Linked DNA regions of Homo sapiens: region 1 is linked to region 2. Evidence: promoter capture Hi-C in human tissues and cell types (Jung and others, 2019). All regions are on one chromosome and are shown on one strand. Each heading gives the region's core, a stretch centred on a gene start or on the middle of the fragment in contact. The rest is flanking DNA. Distances are from core to core; before and after follow the strand shown. Region 1 overlaps DNAJC24 (DnaJ heat shock protein family (Hsp40) member C24). Region 2 holds the start of PAX6 (paired box 6).

Region 1 (7,342 bases), core at 1,709-4,208, 380 kb after region 2:
TTATATTACTCCAGCGATGGTTGGGCGCACTGGCTCACCCCTGTAATCCCACCACTCTGGGAGGCTGAGGCGGGTGGATTGCTTGAGGTCAGGAGTTCAAGACCAGCCTGGCCAACATGGTGAAACCCTGTCTCTACTGAAATAGAAAAATTAGCTGGGTGTGGTGGTGGACACCTATAATCCCAGCTACTTGGGAGGCTGAGGCAGGAGAATTGCTTAAACCCAGGAGGTGGAGGTTGCAGTGAGCCGAGATCACACCACTGCACTCCAGCCTGGGCAACAGAGCAAGACTCCGTCTCAAAAAACAAAAATTACTCCAGAGATGATGTCGCTAATTTGAAAGAAACTCAGGTCATAACTGCTACAAAAGTGACCTAGCTAATGGCAGTTATCATTGTGCTTTCAAAGAATTTCTATTTACAAGTATTTAACCACCAGCAAATATCTGAGTTCCACTTTTGGTTTAGGTACTGTAAATAATTAAAATCATCTTTTAAAAAGCATATGGATATAAAAGTAAATACTGCATAAAAAACTAAAAACTTTGTGGAACATAATATAAAAAGACAAAAAATAGATTGGGAAAAATGTTTGCAATAAATGTATTAATCTTTGTATTATATAAGAAATACACATAGATAGGAAAATTGAGATCCCAAAGACTAATATATGCAAAAGTAGGCACAGACTATTCACTGGATATTAAATTCAATCAGAAAACACACAGAATAATATTTGACACTGCCAACAATCAAATAAATGCACAGAAAAATATTACCAAGGTATTAAATTAGTTATTATTTACAAAAATTAAAAACGTTCATCCAAGCCTTATAACCATTTGTCAGGATGTACTCCCAAAGAATAAAACAGTTAAATGTAAAAGAAGAAACCATGAGACCTTTCTAAGAAAGACTCAAAATTCAGAAGACATGAAAGCAAAGGCTCATAACAGAAATGAGAAACTGGGAATATTTGCTATTTGTACCACAAAGGGCTAATCTCCCTAGTATTGAAAGAGTGCTTATGAAATGAGGGAAAAAAAGGAGATCAATCCAGTAGCCAAATGGCAAAAGACATGCAAAAAGATATCACAGAGAAGGAATTAAATGCCTCTTAAACACGAAAAGAAGATTCAGCTTCACTCATAAGACAAAGGTATCATTTTTTGCCATATATATTGGCAAAAATCTATTAGATTGGTGCAAAAGTAATTGTGGTTTTTGCCATTAAATGTATTTTGCGGCAAAAACCGCAGTTATTTTTGCACCAAACTAAAATGCAATAAAAGTCAAATCATGGCATTACTGCCTGTTGGTTTATTCTGGTATAAAATAGTAAAAACTGACAGAAAAGCCAAGCAGGTTAAAAATAATATTAAAGGTTATAATGTAGGGCCCCAAGCAAGGCTGACTTTGTGTGTTAAGTATTGGAAACAATCAGGTTGGTAAGGGCAGGCAAGTTTAGGGAAAGCTTCATGAAGAGATGGAATGTAGAAACCACTGATCCTGGTTCAATGGGATGGTCAGACAAAGATATCCCTAGATTGTTGATAGTTGCCTTATTAGTTTGCATAATGTTTTAATTTTACTTTTACTGGTGTCCATAACTACATGGTTTTATTTATTCATATATATTACCTGTTTTTAGAACTCAGGAAAAAACACATTTTAGGAAGAAACTATGGAAATTTAGACACGAAAGATGTTCACCTTATAGCTTTATCAAATAACACTTCAGAATGTTAATTACATATGGCTTTTCCAAATTCATTATTTTGTTCCTTTTTTGATGACTGTGATGTACACACTTTCCTACTAGAGCAGTCTTACACTTCACTGCACATATGTCTATTTTATTAGATAGCAAGGAAGTGGCCTTGCTATTGGCCCTTGGACAAACTAGTTCCAGTAATAAAAGTGAATGATCATACAGTTTCTGATATTCTTTCAGTAAACTTATGTCCTTTTTCTACAAATAGATTTAATGTTTAAATGTATCTAAACGCAGAGTTAATTTGGAGATTTTTGGCAAATATTTGTACATAAGACTTTCCAGAATCTTAAAATCGCTTACGTAAGTGAAATTCAAATTTTACATTCTTGTATACATTTACTTTTCAAGAAAGTAATTTGTGATTAAAAAAAAAAGTTGCATTATCTCTTATTAAACCCAGTAGTGTATTTTTCTTCATAAAAGGTTTACAAGTAAAACCAGTCAAAAGAATAGTGAAAATAAATTCCTTCCCCATACATAGATCATTTTGGTCTGGTCAATAATTCAACTGTCTTAGATAACAAAACTGTAAAATAAAAACTTTTAAAAAGCAATTTTAAAGATTGTTGCTGGAAAGTAAGTTTTTTAGTTTACATTGAACAGAAATAGGCAAATGTCTCATATTGCAGGTGGCTTAAAAAAAACAATGTATTCTGTTCTAAATATGCTTATGATTGTCACTGAGTAAAAATCTTGTTATTTACCAGTTTATACATAGAACATTATAGGAGATAGTCTTTTCATTTAGGAGAAGGTCACCATCATTAATTTTACAACTGATGATTTTATAATAGGTCCTTCTGGTTCTTCATGGTCATTATTGAAGTATAATGCATTGAAGATATGGCCTGTACAAAGGCAGAACAGGGATGTTAATTAGAATTCTGACAAGCCTACTCCAATAAAATGATGAGATTATTTGTAATTGATGTCACAATCAATTACCATTTAGTTCATCATGAGCATTCTAATAGGTTTGGCTTTGGTATTGGCCCCAGGATGTTGCTGAGTGAGTGGCTGCCCTGCTTATACTGTTATTGAGACACAAGGGCGCATTTTCAGTCAGCATCCTAATGACCTCTTTTGAAGTCTATTAAATTAATGACCCTGTCACACTATTTTGATCTCTTATAACCTCAGTTTGGGGTTTGTATAACAAATTAATATTTGGGAACCATATGACAAAAAAAGATGATAGGTTTTTAAAAAAGTTGAAACCTTTGATATTTAGTAAAAGTTATTGTGCAAGAAATAAAAGCAAAAATGCAATATTAGGATTTGTATCTATTCTATAAAAGAGAGCCTTAGGACATTTCTCCCTACCTCTGAATGACATGCTTTTTAATTATAGTACCCAAATTAGGTTTTATCTTTAAGAGGCTGCATTTCTTCTCTAATTCTAGGTGCCAATGGGTCATGTTTGGTTAGAAGGTGACAATCTACAGAATTCTACAGATTCCAGGTGCTATGGACCTATTCCATATGGACTAATAAGAGGACGAATCTTCTTTAAGGTACCATTTTCTGCTTAAAATGTAAGGTTTATTTTCTGAGCTAGAAAAAGTTTCTCTCAAAATGATCTCTGAAATCTTCAAGCTGTCAGTGTACTTAACTGTTGCACCGAATATATTTTTTGAACCTGTTGGCCTTAACTTAATAGCCATATGCAAACCTATTCCCCCATTGCCCCTGCTCCCATAGAGATAATAATAAAATCCAAACTACCTTAGCTATAGCCTAAGAAAACTTTAATTTGAATTTCCAAAAGTTCAGTTCTCTCTTGTACAACTCTTAAAACCATGTTCACATCCTGCCCAGGGCATATTTTAATAAGCATGTGCAGAAGAACAGTCTAGATTCAAACTACCTGTAAAGTAGGGATACCCCAGTTGAGTACTGTGAGTCACAGACTTATTGTGAATGTATGATTATTAGGGAAGATTGTTTTCACTGGCCCCTCCTTTTTATCACAATCAGTGAGGAGAAAAACATTCATGAATACATGGAGCTGTTGGATAATTTACAGGATTCTTTACATTTAAAACAGATGCCATATTCAAGTACTTAAACCTAAGCCCCTTTGGTTGAAAGTACACAGTTAACTCTTACTTGCAAGTAGTAAAAGAAAACACAGACCATATATTCATACATATTTATTCACACACCACACACATATAATTTCATGTACATTGTTTGAATGTCCCAAACTTTGGAGTTTAAACATATATACACATAAGTTTATTTTCTCAAGTCTTACTTTGATGTAGAAAATTTTATTCTTGATTGATGAGTAAGGAGAAAGTGTTTATCTGGCATAGAGAAAAGGGACAGATAGCAAAAGGGAATATGATGATACTATAACATTACTTTCACTAATTGTCTTCAACCTCATTTTGATTTTACAGATTTGGCCTCTGAGTGATTTTGGATTTTTACGTGCCAGCCCTAATGGCCACAGATTTTCTGATGATTAGTAAGCATTTATTCTTTTGACTTGATTATTGTCTCCTTTTCATGTGAATTTATTACTCCCGTTGAAACCGTGTACTTACCAATAAACTATTTGCTATTCAGTTTTAGTTGTTTTTAATTGTTAAATGTAAAGAATATTCAACACACATTCTGCCAAGTTCTGTTAGTTCAAAATATATGGATAAAAATGTAACCCAAAAAAGTCATCTAAATTTTATGATACAAAAATATTGTGGGAGGGGGAACCTGGATGACTACCTCACTTTTGAATTCTTGTTCTTATAGGTATAATGAAACTAATCTATTCTTCTTAAATATACCTCATACTTTAGCAGCTACATTTACAAGTCAGAGTAGTAACTATTCGTATTTATAAGTTCAACCTGACAATGCCAGGTTTGATAAAAAGCTGCTAGTCTACATGCTCAGCCCACTCATTTGAAATTAAGTAAAAATGTTTCTAAAGGATCCCTTAAAGTTCTTTAAATGAGTTCTGACTTTTACTGTACACAAAATATTAAATACATAGAAAAATGCATCTTTAAGGCATATGCCATCTGTAGTTGGCTATAGTCAATAATACTTTATAAAAGTTCATTTCAGCATAGCAGCAGTGCAATGGCCCTGTCTTCATAAATACAGGCATTAATACTATATCTTTTTTTATTTATTTTATTTTATTTTTTTTGAGACAGAGTCTTGCTCTCTGTAGCCCAGGCTGCAGTGCAGTGGCACAACCTCGGCTCACTCTGCCTCCTGGGTTCAAGTGATTCTTGTGCCTCAGCCTCCCGAGTAGCTGGGACCACAGGCAGACACCAACGTGACTGGCTAATTTTTAAAAAAATTATTTTTAGTAGATATGGGGTTTCACCATGTTGGCCAGGGTGGTCTTGAACTCCTGACCAAAGGTGATCCGCCTGCCTTAGTCTCCCAAAGTGCTGGGATTACAGATGTGAGCCACCATGCCTGGCCCCAATATTATATCAACACTCCAAAATAAAAGGGGAAATAATGCACCAACTTCCAAGTCATTATTTTTAAAAAAGCTTCTGGCCAGGCATGGTGGCTCACGCCTGCAATCCCAGCACTTTGGGAGGTTGAGGTGGGCGGATCATTTGAGGCCAGGAGTTCAAGACCAGCCTAGCCAACATGATGAAATCCCATCTCTATTAACAAAACTTAGGCCAGGCACGGTGGCTCAAACCTGTAATCCTAGCACTTTGGGAGGTCGAGGCAGGTGGATCACCTGAGGTCAGGAGTTTGAGACCAGCCTGGCCAACATGGTGGAACCCCATCTCTACTAAAAATACAAAAATTAGCTGGGCATGGTGGTGGGCACGTGTAATCCCAGCTATTCGGGAGGCTGAGGCTGGAGAATCACTTGAACCCAGGAGACGGAGGTTACAGCGACCTGAGATCATGGCACTGCACTCCAGCTGGCGCGACAGAGTGAGACTCTGTCTTAGAAAAAAGAAATTAAAATTAAAAGCTTCCATTTCCTAAATTACATTTAAATTTGAAGATGGCAGTGTTTACAAGCTTTGGAAATACGGACCAAGATTGGAGGCAACACTTTCTACAGTTGCCACTTTGTCTTTATTAACTTTGAAATAACCTTATGAATATCCATAACCAGCCTTCCTTATGGAAGAACTGGCCTCACATTATTCACAAAGATTCTAGGTGTACAACAGCCCCATAACTTTAGCAACTAGAAACGTTATCGGTTAGACCAGAAACTTAGTAACTATAAAGGAATATGATGATACTGTTACCCACTGAAAAGAGGAGACATGCTCATATTAAGAAAATTCTTATTTTGTGTCATGGAAAAAAATGACATAATAAAGTTCTCAGATGGGAATTCACCAAATATAATCAAATCTATTTTTGTGACAACTTGTAAATATAAATTATAAATACAAATAAATAATTATATTCATTCTCTATTAATCTGAGGTGGTCTCTGCTTGATAATTGTATATTTTCTTTGCAAATAATCGGGCTGACAAATAATCCATTTCCTTGAATGGACAAAGCTCAACGGCTTCTCATCATGTCTCAATACCACAGTTAAAGCATTTCAAGTTGTGAACAATTTTAGTTATAATGAAGGAGTTCTATAATTAGTGAACATGTATCACAAGAAATCAGGCTAACTTCTTCCGCTTCATCCTTGGAAACACTGTATTTTCCACCACATCTGCAACTCAGATAAAAAGAGTGATCACCTGCAAAAGAAAACAAAATAATCTTTCAAAGACTTGTAAGTAACTACCTCACTAATACCCTTAAAAGGTGCAGAGTTTATTCCATAGGAATTGTAAAACAAAACAAAGAAGCTCAGTAAAGATAAAATGTATTTAAAGGAGAACTGGATTTCTTGAAAGGGGCAGTGTTTCTAAAAATTATCTACCAAAGAATCTTTCTCTGTAGAGGAGATGGGTTGAAGCTATGAATTAAAAGTCCAAGGATTTTGGGAGGAGAGGGCATGCTCAGAAGTAACCCATGAAACTTATTTGAAGTTTTATGTTTTCTTAAAATTCATATAAATTTTACATTCTTTTCAACAATGTATTTGTCTAAAATATTACAGTGAAGGAAAAGAAAAACAGCCCTACCTGTCTCACTGTTAGGGAGGATGATGCTTTTGCCTGAAGTCTATCCTTTAGAGAAAGCCAGACTATTTATCAAATGCAACATCTGGATACTTTCTCTTCTAGTGTCACACTATTTCAAGAATCTTGACTTAAGTCTATAAACACAACACCATGTTGTTGTTGTTTTTTTAAATCCTATGGGGGTATGTGTGTGTGTGTTTGATGTTTACAAATGATACATGAACCAACAAGATGCTGAAGTGAGATGCCCAAAGGAGGCAATACGGTGCAATACTTAGGCTCCTGATCGTGGAAATTTTAAGTGTGTCATTTTCCTGGGAAGTTGAAATGCTTGTGCCCTTTGACTTAAAGAATCTCTGATCCATTGGTCATTCCATTTTACTGTCTCTGAGAAGTAACTGTCAAAGGAAAATAACTTATCAGTCACATTATTTTACCACCATTATAATTGATTATTACATAAATAAGTCTCA
Region 2 (6,182 bases), core at 3,683-6,182:
TTATTTATTTATTTTAGAATTGGAAAGGAAAACCGAAGGGAACCCAACGCCCCTCCGGGGCAGAAGGGGGCAGCGCGCGCGAGGCGGAAGGACAGTCACTCTCGCTGCACAAACTTTCCCGCGGGCCGCGCCGCGCGTGCAGGGGCTGGACGCCACCCGGCGCCAGAGCCGGGCCTGAGGAGCGGGGTCTGGCCGGGAACGAGGGCTGCCAGCCTGGGTGGTGTCATTTGTTGCTTCATTTTTCATTCCCTTTCCTCTCGTGAGGAATCAGAGGCATCGGGCCGCGCGGGCTGAGAATTCTTAAATTCTCCCCGGCCGCATTCGGCTGAGCCAACCCGCAGTTCCTGTCAGCCCCTCTGTCCCCCGGGCAGCGGTTTTCCCCGCTAGCCAGGTTTGGAAGTCACCCTCTGTGAGACTGGGTTAGGAAGTGACGAAAAGCGCCGAATTGTTTTCAAATTGAAAATACTTTTTTTTTTTTTTTTGGAGATAGCGCTGACAAATATATGGGATCCCGGCTTTTGATCCCTGGCTGCCGCCTCTGTTCTCCTGTCGCTAATAAAACTCGCATTGAGCCCCTTAGTGCCTTGATTAACAGGCAGATTAACTCTTACTGGGGTTGGGAACAGCTTGTCCTAATCAATGTCATTTTAAAAGCCCGTCAGGATGCGCTTAGCTTCGGTTCCCTGGATGCTTGAGCGAGCCAGCCATGACATTTGCTCCCTCCCCCTCCCCAGCCTCAAATCCCCCAGTAAAGCCCCCAGTTCCCGCCTGCCTGTTCCCAGGTCTACAACGGGACAAATCGCAGGACCGGGTCGTTGGCCTTTAGAATAGGCAGCGGTTTAGAGAGGGGATATCCAGGGAGAAGGGACTGAGGTGGCCTTGACTTGCTTGCTTTTCCTTTGAAGCTGAACTCTTGCCTCTTGGGGGCAGAGGTTACAGGGAAAAGAGAGATGGGGGGATCGTCACAGGGTGATGAAATGGAAAGCAAACTTTTCTAGGAACCCTATTTGCAAAAATCGGAGAGTGCCGCTGATTTCAGTTGTCCTACATGTCAGGAGTTTTAAACCTAACTCCTATCTGGACAACAGCATGGAGGGACTGGGAGGCAAAGCCTTGGGAGTCTGACCCGCTGGGCTGCTAGGAATCCCTTTGCTGGGAGACTCCACTGGACAATGTTATTTTAAAGGTATTTTGGGGGTGGGCAGGGAGAAGACAGAGAGAGAAAGAGAGAGAGAGAGAGAGAGAGAGAGAGAGAGAGAGAGACAGGCTGGCCTCCCAGAGCGAACGGAAGAGGACTGAGGACTGAACCCAGGGAGCCCCTAGCACTGGCCATTTGGCAGGAGGCGAGGAAGGGCGAGGGCACCGCGGCTTCCCCCCAAGCCGAGCAGTGGCCACAGCCTGAAGGTGCCACGGGGCGGCTCTGGGATCTTCTTGGCTTTTCTAGGCTCTGGGCTCGGCGAGGCTGCCGGGTTAGCGGGAACCGGCAGGTTGCTGGAGAAAGGAGAGGGACAAAGGCCTGGAAGTGGGGGAGGCACCAGGGACTGGGCGGCCGGGATGGGAGCCTTTGCCTTTAGGGCTCACTGGACCCGTTTGCCAGCTCCGCGGACAAGGGATCCCACCTTCCCAGGGTCTGCAAAAAGAGAGACGTTTGGGGCACTACAAAGTGACGCAGGTGTCTGCCAAGACTTTCCTTCTCCAAAAAATGCCAGTCTTCACCCTTTCCAGCGCGCCGGCGCTGCGCCTCTGCTTGACCGGGGAAAGAGAGAGTTTGGAGGTGTCAGAACTGTCAGAACTCCGGATGGGAGGCTCTTGGTTCTGAAGCTGGGAGCTGGAGGCACTTCCCCCCAGAAGTGGGCACTTCTTTGCCTCCCCGAAGGCCTGATGGGGTGGGCACAGGGGAATGCCAGGGATCGGTGCGGGTGAGATGCTTGCCTCACCTCATGTTGACGCATCAATACTGGCTAGAAGCTCTGGGCAGGCTCTGGCGAGCCACGGTCCCCCAGCGGGACTCCCTCCACGCAGACAGCCCCGCTACCGGGTGGGACGACCCCGGCGGCCCCCGCGGGAACGCACCCGCCGGCCTGAGAGGTCCTCCCTCTGGCCACAGGGGGCGGAGGGTAGGGGGGAACAGGGGCCTGTGGGGAGGCGGGGAAAGGAGACAGAACCTAAAGCGCAATCCCCGCCGCCCCCCCGCGTCTTGGAGGGCAGCAAGTGGGCCTCGGGCGTGTTGGTAGCCGCAATTAAAATGGCGACCTGCGAGTTGTCTCGGTTTTGTACACACCTCTGGCAACCGCGCCCGCACCTCAGTCTCGGCCCCCACACCCCTAGGCCGCTTCGCCCCCAGAGCCGGTACTTGGCAGAGGGAGTGAGGCTCCCCACGAGGTAGAACAGCACCCCCACCTTCCTTGAGACCAGTCCAGAGAGAACGAGGAAATCTCACTCTCACCCCTCTCTCCTTAAACTTTGAAAACTCGGCCTCATTCTGGGGTTGAACTCCCCTCCCCAAATATTGACACATGGGAAGCAGCCAAGTCCTTTTTGTTTTTTGTTTGTGCGGAGGAGTTTCCAGGAGTCTTTCCCGGAGCCCCCTTCCCCACCCAATGACGTCAGTGGCATTCACTCCTCGCTCCTTGCCTTTTCTGATTTTTTGTTAAAACTTTTCTCCGCAGCGAGATGGGGGTTGGAGGGGTGGGAGAAGGAGCTGATTCAAAGAGCCAGTGCCCTGGGGGGAAATAGCAACAAGATTACGGCTGCTTCTTTCCGAGGCAAAGCTTAAGAAGGTGCTAATCCACTCGGTCGCTAATTGAGAGGTTGTAAAAATGATACTCGCCTCCAGTTCGGACAGAATCACTTCCCCCCCCCCCGCCCCCCCGCAAGTCCCTCGCTCATGCACAGCGGACTTGAGTCTTGAGTCCAAGCTTCTTTAATGCTCGCTTGGAAAGTAAAAGGAGAGAGAAAGAGAAAGCCGACTTTCGCTGGTCTGGGACTCAGGGCCGCGGCCCCACTTGCCGGCATCCTCCGAAAGTCGCGCTCCTGCGAAATGAAACCTCGCCCAGGAGGCCGCGGACCTGGACACCCGGCGCCACCTCCTTCACCTCTGACCCAGGTTTCCTCCCGGCGCTGCGAGCTCCCGGGGAAGGGTTAGAGCCGGCAGCCCTCCCCAGCCCGGGGAGGGGAGAGGGTTATGCGACCCCACCTCTGGCTAGGGCCGGGGAGGCCTTTGCTTCCCGGGAGCCCTGCCCGGGCTCCTTGGTCGCAGGGCTGCTGGGTCCCAGGCAGGAACGAGAGGGTGAGGCCCACATGTGGCCCGGCGGCCCAGGGCGGCTTGCAGCGTCCTCACTGTCCCGGCTGCCAGGGGCTGCGGCGACGCGGCCAGTCAGCAGCGAGTTCAGGTCGCGCAGATTTTATTGATGAGCTCTGACTTTCAGCACTTTCCCTAAGTCAAGAAGAGTCTAGCGTACCCTTCGGCTGCTTCATTTCAGCCTCCCTGCCTCAGCTCTTCAGCCCTATTCCCCCTCGCCCTGTCCTGGGGTGTGTACAGCAGCCCAGGCCTTCCTTCTCCTTCCCGGCTCCGTGGCCCGAAGCCGCCGAGAGAGCTCGGGACAGCGCAGGACCAGGCAGCCGCTCGCTCTCCTGTCACCTTAACTGCAGGCTCCGAGGGGCGCCTTTGGAGTGTACTGAGGTGTGTCCTAATCGTGCGGCATTCAACAAATGGACTTCTGGTGTGTGGTCAGAAGAGAAAAGCCATTTACTTACTTTCCTCCCCGGTTTTCTGGCAACAGCTGAAGGGGAGCTGCCTCCGTGGACTGAGCAGACCCAGGAGAGGGAGTCGTGGTGCGGAGACACACGCACCACACACAGATGACCGGTGGCACACACGACACACGCTGACATACCGACATCGCCAGTGGGACACACACACACACACACACACACACACACACACACACAGAGAGAGAGAGAGAATCCCTCCCAGCATTGGTCATCCGCCCCCCCACCCAGGCTTCCACTCCCCCTCCCCTCTTATCTCCCCTGGCTTCCCCTCCTCTCGGGCGCTGCGAAAAGCAGCCGCACTTAGTCAACAAATGGCACGTGGGAGAAGTTGGTGAGTGTTTGGTGAGGACTCTTCAGGGCTTTTCACAAGAACCCTCTGTACACAAAGTAAGTGGCGTGTTTACTCGGGCCTCTCCAGCCAGAGCTGTGCCTCTGCTCCGCTGCGCACCGCGGCTTCCGAAAGGAGAAAGGAGAGAAGAAAGGGCGGGGAGAGCGGGGTGGAGGATTTGGACAGGCCCTGGAGGCTTGGGCTGGGGAGGCCTCTGGCCTCGTTTAGTTCTCGGCCCGGCAACCTCCTCTCGGCCTAGGCTTCGCCGCGGCCTCCGCAGCTGGAATGGAGCTGCCAGGACCCAGTGACGCTCCCGCCCCTTTCCTCTTCTTCCAAGGGGCCAGGTGGGCTGGGGTGCGGCCGCCGCTGTGCTCTGTGTCTTGGGGCCCCGGCTGGGATGGGGTGGGGGCGGGCGGGGGCGGGGCGGCAGGCCACGCTGTCCTGGAGTTGGCAAGAAAGGACAGCACAGAAACTTGCACCCTCCGAGGACTGGGAGTCCCGAGTCCAGCTTAGGGGGAGTGGGGGCGCGACCCCCAACCCAGAAACCTTCACTTGACCGCTCAAGTTCGCGGCAGCAGGGCGGGCCGCGCCGAATCTCGGCGTGCGCGGAGCGGGGAGATGCAGGCGAGCGCCAGAGCCCGGGCTCGGGGGCCCTGCGCCGGGGAGAGGAGCCGGGACCCACCGGCGGAGCCGAAAACAAGTGTATTCATATTCAAACAAACGGACCAATTGCACCAGGCGGGGAGAGGGAGCATCCAATCGGCTGGCGCGAGGCCCCGGCGCTGCTTTGCATAAAGCAATATTTTGTGTGAGAGCGAGCGGTGCATTTGCATGTTGCGGAGTGATTAGTGGGTTTGAAAAGGGAACCGTGGCTCGGCCTCATTTCCCGCTCTGGTTCAGGCGCAGGAGGAAGTGTTTTGCTGGAGGATGATGACAGAGGTCAGGCTTCGCTAATGGGCCAGTGAGGAGCGGTGGAGGCGAGGCCGGGCGCCGGCACACACACATTAACACACTTGAGCCATCACCAATCAGCATAGGTGTGCTGGCTGCAGCCACTTCCCTCACCCACACTCTTTATCTCTCACTCTCCAGCCGCTGACAGCCCATTTTATTGTCAATCTCTGTCTCCTTCCCAGGAATCTGAGAATTGCTCTCACACACCAACCCAGCAACATCCGTGGAGAAAACTCTCACCAGCAACTCCTTTAAAACACCGTCATTTCAAACCATTGTGGTCTTCAAGCAACAACAGCAGCACAAAAAACCCCAACCAAACAAAACTCTTGACAGAAGCTGTGACAACCAGAAAGGATGCCTCATAAAGGTGAGTCCGCTTCTTTCTTCTCGCTTTATTTTTATTGCAATATTCAGACAGGTCTCCCCCTTCCTCCCCCCTTCCTTCCTCCCCTCTCGCCGGTCCCCTCCCCCACTGCTACGCCGGGAGAGTTGGGCCGGAGAAGTTTCCACGCAGGAGCCCAAACTTTCTACTTCCAGCGAAAGCCCGCGTCGGAGGGCGACTGCCGGCGAGCGGGAGCGGCGCAGGGCTCGGGGCGGGCGGCCAGCTCAGCCCCAGCGCCAGCGCCAGCGCCAGCGCGGGCTGAGCTCGCGGGAAGAAGGGAGACTCCAGGCGCGACAGCAGCCGCGGCTCCTAGCCCCAGCGTCGCCCAATGCTCCCGACCCGCGGGAAAAGACGAAGAGGCTCTGTGGTGCCCAAGGCCCTGGAACGGCCGCAGAGAGCAACCGCTGCCGGCTGCTTTGTCCAGCCCGAGGCCCAGCGAACGCGCAGAGAGCGGGCGCTCCGAGGACTCGCCGAGGGAGCGCCGAGGGAACCTGCTCGCCGCGTCTCCGCCCGCCCGCCGGCCCTCGGGCTTTGTGCCGCACTGGGCTCCGGCGCAGAAGAGTCAGCCGGCACTCGAGCGCCGAGGGGGGCACCGCGCCCGCCACCAGCCCGAGTGGAGTCAGTCGGCAAGGCAGCCGCACGCTGGAGGTAGAGGGAAGAGCGAGCTAGCGCGAGCCGGGAAGGAAGCCACCAGGCCAAGGCGGTGGAACGCGCGCTCCGAGGGAGCTCAGAGCCGAGCGG

Evidence for each region. The method cuts DNA at HindIII sites, captures the fragments that hold promoters and counts their contacts. A contact is called where the count stands out against the background at its distance.
Region 1: a contact is called between a fragment that was not itself captured here and the fragment with the promoter of PAX6 in region 2, in 1 of the 25 tissues and cell types used here (lymphoblastoid cells).

Annotation. Positions count from the first base shown.
Region 1 is chr11:31,429,408-31,436,749 of GRCh38, reverse strand. It overlaps DNAJC24 (DnaJ heat shock protein family (Hsp40) member C24), which reads right to left. Exons shown (of 5, transcript NM_181706.5): 5 at 3,915-6,479. The coding sequence ends at 6,349. IMMP1L (inner mitochondrial membrane peptidase subunit 1) reads left to right here. Exons shown (of 6, transcript NM_001304274.2): 5 at 3,180-3,290; 6 at 4,182-4,349. The coding sequence ends at 4,250. Among named protein-coding and RNA genes, the nearest start is that of DNAJC24, 63 kb to the right of the region's middle. The HindIII fragment of the contact is 5,117 bases long and covers 400-5,516 here.
Region 2 is chr11:31,810,072-31,816,253 of GRCh38, reverse strand. PAX6 (paired box 6) reads left to right here and starts at 4,932. Exons shown (of 14, transcript NM_001368894.2): 1 at 4,932-5,139; 2 at 5,239-5,426. RefSeq lists enhancers at 1-659, 2,721-3,689, 5,037-5,094, 4,797-5,366, a silencer at 1,623-1,877 and a promoter at 4,740-5,149. The HindIII fragment of the contact is 12,830 bases long and covers 55-6,182 here.